Regions from separate parts of the Homo sapiens genome. Here region 2 is linked to region 1. The links are contacts of gene promoters, found by promoter capture Hi-C in human tissues and cell types (Jung and others, 2019). All regions are on one chromosome and are shown on one strand. Each heading gives the region's core, a stretch centred on a gene start or on the middle of the fragment in contact. The rest is flanking DNA. Distances are from core to core; before and after follow the strand shown.

Region 1 (2,969 bases), core at 324-2,823:
AAATATTGTTTATACGGAGCTGGCGGGTACTATGACCCTCCATAAATACTTGTGGATTGCTATGCTAAAAAAATCACCATTGAATCCTGTACAAGAGTCACATGACAGGTATTACCACAATGCATGTGTATTTCTCTGTGTAAAGTTTTATGGAAAATGGCATGTCTCTTTGAAACACTCAAATCTCACACCAAGGTGAACAGAACTGTGATTAGTATGTCATAGGAACATTCGGAGGAAGATATCCAGCCCTAAGAAAAGATCCGATATCTTACATCCAGACCCGATGCAAAAGGAATTCTCCAATGCTTTTCGGCAAAGGCCTCCATTTACGGATTTCCTTTTCCTTCTCTTCCACAGATCCCCTCACAGAGCCAGAGGACCCTACACCTTCTCCATCTTCCCTAAAATCGCCCCCCACTTTTCCCTCAGGAGCCAAGCGATCTCCCGATTCGCCCGCAACCCCACCCCACCGCGAAGCCCCCGCTGAGACCGGAGGACGCCGGTTTCCAGACACCTCGGAGTGTGAGACCCCCGTCTCCGGGGTGGGGGTGCGGACGGGCGATCTGGGGACCCGACCACAAGACGAGCACTGTGCCTCTTTACCTGTAGCCGCCGCCCGCCGCCCGCACCGCCCGCTTCTATCTCGCCGGCCTGGGGGTGCCGCGGAGGGCCCATCTCGGCGGCGGCGATGTGCTCGGCGGGCGCGGGGAGGGATCGCGGCGGCGGCGCCCGGGGCCCGCTGCTGTCCAGCCCCGCTGGCCCCACTCACCCCCGCCACCCGGCCGCCGCTGTGCTCGCAGTCCTCTTCCCCCGAACCTGCCCCTGCCTCCCCCGCCCGCCCATTGGCCCCACGCCCGACGCGTCAGTGGAGGCCCAGGACCAATCCACAGCGACCTGCACGTTCAGAGCCCGCCCCACCCTCCCGCCGACTGCCAGCCAATCAGGCGCGAGCCTGGCCGGGGCAGCCCAAACCCCTCGAGGCTGAGCCAATGGCAGAGGAAGACAGGCGCCCCCGGCGAAGGGGGCGGGGAGCGGGGAGGCCCCGCCTCAGCCAGGGTCTGAAAGCGGCGGGCGCAGGGCCCGGATGTGGAGAGTCACTTTAAACTGCTCCAGGAGCCAAACTCCCTGGGCCGGCCGCCCGCCCGCCCGCCCGCCCGCGCTCCCCCGGCCGCTCTGCTTCCCCGCCAAGGCCCACGTCCGCCACGCCCCCACGCCCGGGTCAGCCCACCCCTCCCGGTGCCTCTCCCTTCCTCGCCACAGGACACCCAGCCCCTGTCGCCGGCCCAACCGCCGTGACCAGCTCGCGAAAGAGCCGCGGTCCGAGCCGCAGGAGACGAGGATCCTCTGCCCTTCCCCGGGGACGCGCAACGGGACGGACGCTGCAGCCCGGCTCAGCCGCCCCGCCCCCTCGTCTCCTCCCCTTCCCTCCCGGGCGCCCGTCCCGCCATTACCTGGGTGCTGCGCCCAGTGGCCGCCGCGCCGCCTTGAGCTCGCTCCCGCGCGCTCTCCGTCTGTGGGGCCGACGTCCCCAGGCTCCGGACCCGCAGCCACCGCCGGGGAGCTAGCACTCTGCCCCCCACCCCTCACTCCAGCGCCGCTGCTTCCGCCGCCGTAACGAGCCTCCCGTCTATTGGCTGGCGCAGGCCCCGCCCCCTGCCGAGTCAGCCAGTCGCCGGTGGTCGTGAGCGGGAGAGCGGACGGGCCCGCCCCTCTGAGCCGCGGCGTCCTGTGGGAAATGTAGTCGCCGGAGTCAGGAGGGCGGGCCGCGAAGGAGGTGGAGAGCGCCGGGGCGGGGCCGCAGGCGACCCGGCCAGGGCAACACACCCCTTTGCTGTCTGAAGTCGGTTCTGCCTTTTCTCTTGGCTAAGTGAGAAGACAGTGGATCCCACCCTATGCCTTAACCTGAGGGCACTGGGTTTCATTTTCCCCGCGGGGAGGCGCGGCGCGGGAAAGGGTAATGGAGGCCAACTGCGGCGGCCAAGGGATCCGCGGGCCGGGCCAGTGTCGTGACGGTGCCCGCCTCCCTATGCCGCGAGTGGGACTCGGTGTCCCCACCGGGAACCGCGGTCGGCACAGCCTACGCGCGGCGGGAGCCGCCAGGCGCAGCGCGGGCGCGGCTCTGTGAAAGCAGGCCGGCAGGGCGCAGGGCTCTGGGCGGCCGGGGCGCACCTGCGCGCGCTTTCCGGATTATAAAGGAGCTGAAGGGGGCAGTTTTATTTTGTCATTTTGCTTGGGGTTCAGGGTTGGAGTTTATGCACCTGTAGAAGACTTAGCCATATCTTTTGAGGCCACATTTGTGTCTGATAAGAGATTAAGTCTCCCTCTTCCCTTACCAGATGGTAATTTAGGCCTGGAGTTTTGTGATTAGTTAGGAAATAAATGGGGCTCAAACCCCCCTCTTCCTATCATGCACAGCTGTGTAAGACAACTGCTTGGTTAGAAGAGAGTAGCTCCTGGCTATAGCCCAGGGATGAGTCTCAGATACTCCTCCTCTTCAAGCCACTTTCCTTTTCCACCTTCATGCCTTCATTCTCAAACTTCTAAAGAGTGACTCCTGTGATAGACTTCAGCCTCCTCTCTGCCTAGGCAGTCCTTATCCCTTTTGGAGTTGCCACTCTTCTCAGACTGCTCCCCAAAAGTTGCCAACACCTACTCAACTTCAAACCCATCGGTCCTCACTTAGATCTCATCTTGTTTAGCTTACTGACCAGTAGTAATTCCTCCTCATGTCTTCCCTTGGCCTCTAGAACCAGGCTGTCTCCTGCTTCTACTCCTATGTCAAGCTCCATTATACCTCCTCTTTCTCATAAATACAGCATTCTTCAGGGCTCCAACACGCTAATGCTATACTGCCTTCCTAAATGGTTTAATGTATTTCCACAGTTTCAAATGTCATCCTTTTTGTTTTTTGTTTTTTTGAGACAGGTTCTCAGTTCAGCCCAAGCTGAAGTCCAGTGGCGTGATCA
Region 2 (2,969 bases), core at 307-2,806, 260 kb after region 1:
GCCTGATGCCAACTCTGGAAAACACATCAACTGGAGAGATGGAGCAGAAATGCAACCCGCGCCAGGTGCCCTGGGCCTAGTGCCCTGGGCCATTTTTTCTTTTACTTTTTCTGTATTTTTCCGATTTTATATAACCATGCATGTATTAGAAAACAAACAAACAAACAAAACAATCTAATCTGACTTTCTCACAGGAGGTAGGAGAGTCAGGGAGGCCTGGGAGGCTCAGGGCCTCCCCAGCAGCCTCTCAGGACATCTCCAAAGCCACAGGATCATCACCAGTAATCAGCCTTTCTCGGGGTCAGGAGGGCGAGAGCTCATCTGAGGATCACTGGGGGTGTCCCTGGGACCCCTCCAGGCTCCACCTCCTGCTGACCCCACAGCAACTCATGTCAGGGTCCGAGGCAAAGTCCTGGTTCTCACCCACGACCCCACAGAGCCTCTCTGCAGCGAAGAGGGGCTGACACCTGCTCCCTCAACCCCCGAGTCCATATAAACACAGAGGCGGCCGCGGAGAGATGGCCTTGCATGCTCTTGAATGTAGACTATTCTTCCCCAGACAGGGAAATTCAGAGCCTAAACAGCCCACCCCAGAGATAAGCCATTCTGTGCCCAAGCTAACTGCAGTATCCAACTCTATACTCCCATGGCCCTGGCTCTACTTACAAGGAGGGCGACAGCTCCGGGTGATGCACTGAGAAAGCTGTCACCTGAGCAGTGACCCTGGGGACTCGGGAATGCTGACTCTCCAGAACCAGCCATTTTATGGCCCCCCATCAAGCACTTCTGTGGTTGGTGCCTCCAAAAAAGGTTAGGGCCCAGCAGGCATTTGCTCATTTTATTCCTGCAACCCCGGTACGGTCGCCACTATTAGATCCCCCTGCAGATGGGCAAATGGAGACTCAGAGATCCTTCTGCAGCCAAAGTCTCCCAGATACCAGAGGTGTCTGACTTCATAGGCCACAAGGCATGTCTGCTGCTCACCCACGTGCACGGTCCCTGAGATGAGCAGCACGAAGCTCCCAGGAGAACCCGGCGCGCCATTGGCAGCACCAGAAAACAGGTCTCCAGCTTGCTAAGGGATCTGCCATCCAGCAGCTGTGTGGCCCTGACGAGTTCCCCAAGGAATGCATCTGTCATCTGTTTCCTCCTTGCACAAAACAAGACAATATGCCTCCTGGAGGTCACAGCATGACGCTCGGCATGAGGATGGGCCCACCCCAGCTGGCAGGGAAAGAGAGGAAGCTGCCGGAACAGACCTACCTGCTTTCACCAACCACAGGCCAGAGGCACCAGGAGAACATGTAAGAGATAGAGAGAGGATAGCTGTCAGTCAAATTATTTGTATAAAATGTCCAAATATAAGTCACAAATAGCCCGATAATCTCAAAAAGCAAAAATCAAAGCAGTAGTTTAAAATCTTCCTAAAATATTGAGGAAATGCCTGCAGCTTACATTCAAATGATTCTACTAAAATGCAAAAGCATGTATATAACTACATATATAAATATACATGTAAGTACACATGTATCTACAGATATACATATATGTAAACAGCAAGTGAGAGCACCCACTCACAAGCACAAATATTGCAAAATGTTAACAAGCAGTGGGTCTCGGTGAAAGGTATGAGGTTCACTTTACTACCATTTCAACGACTTTGTAAGTTTGACATTTTTCAAGATAAAAAGTTAGGGGTAAAATTCCTACAAAGAAAGTGCTGGGCTATTTCTACCAAATTTTAAAAGAACCAGATTTTTGTAAGCAAACCCTCCTAGACAAGAGTAAAGCAGTGGACACTCCCAATTCATTCTATGAGGCCAACATAATCCTAATACCGAAGTTGGACAAATGCACAAGAGAGGAAAATTGCAGCCTGGTGGACACATCTGCTAAGCTCAGAGTTCAAATATAGATACAAAAATTCCTCAACAAAAATCTTATCAAATCCAACCCAATTGAGCATATAAAAGATATTACACTACGACCATACTTAGTAACCCCAGGTATGCAAGGATGGCTTAACAGGAGAAAATCCATACATGTGACTCATCACAGCAACAGACTACAGAGCTCAGTAAATGTGTAAGAAGCATCTGCTAAAAACACTATTCATAATAAAAACTCTCAGGAAACTAGGAATAGAAGTCCCTTAATTTGGCCAGGCGTGGTAGCTCACACTTGTAATCCCAGCACTTTGGGAGGCTGAGGCAGGTGGATGACTTGAGGTCAGGAGTTCAAGACCAGCCTTGCCAACATGGCGAAACACCGTCTCTACTAAAAATACAAAAAAAAAAAAAAAAAAAAAAAAAAAATTTAGCATGCATGATGGCACGCACCTATAAAGAGGCTGAGGCGTAAGAATCACTTGAACCCAGGAAGTGGAGGTTGCAGTGAGCGGAGATCGTGTCATAGCACTCCAGCCTGGGCAAAAGAGTGAAACTGTCTCAAATTAAAAAAAAAAGTTCCTTAATTTGATAAAGTATCCCCAAAACCTAGAGCAAGCATGGTCCCCATGGGGAAGAGTCAGATGCATTCCCTCTAAGATCATGAATAAGACAAAGATGTCCACTCTCTCTAAGGCAATTCTGCATGTACTGGGGATCTCAGCTGACACAATAAAACAAGGAGGAACTAGGGACCTAACTGTCCCAGTAGAGTCCCCTTGCCTGTCCTTCTTGTCTTTAGTGAGTACCCCGTGCAGGCATTACTAGGCTGGGGGCTTCACACACCCTCTCAGACAGCCGGAGTCCCGGCATGGGGGAGGGCTACTTTTCTTGCCCACTGCCCTTGCCCTGGGTCCAGAGCACCCCATAGTTAAGGCTGTGGGTTTGCGCTCAGTGAGGTGTGAGTCCTGGAGGTTTGGGGCGGCCATGGCACTGGAGCAGCAGAAGGAAGCATTAGCCTCCTCAGTCTGGATCCTCACTGTGTCTCTTGGGGGCTAGACCTCTGGCAGGGAGGGCCCCAGG

Evidence for each region. Contacts are between HindIII fragments. The study calls those that stand out against the background at their distance.
Region 2: a contact is called between a fragment that was not itself captured here and the fragment with the promoter of SAP130 in region 1, in 1 of the 25 tissues and cell types used here (spleen).

The regions. Positions count from the first base shown.
Region 1 is chr2:128,026,486-128,029,454 of GRCh38, forward strand. It overlaps SAP130 (Sin3A associated protein 130), which reads right to left and starts at 1,574. Exons shown (of 21, transcript NM_001330301.2): 1 at 1,455-1,574. RefSeq lists silencers at 552-841, 902-1,241, 1,342-1,861, 2,112-2,261. The HindIII fragment of the contact is 22,535 bases long and covers 1-2,969 here.
Region 2 is chr2:128,288,531-128,291,499 of GRCh38, forward strand. All of the region lies in intron 1 of HS6ST1 (heparan sulfate 6-O-sulfotransferase 1), which reads right to left. Among named protein-coding and RNA genes, the nearest start is that of HS6ST1, 29 kb to the right of the region's middle. RefSeq lists an enhancer at 1-132. The HindIII fragment of the contact is 4,625 bases long and covers 1-2,969 here.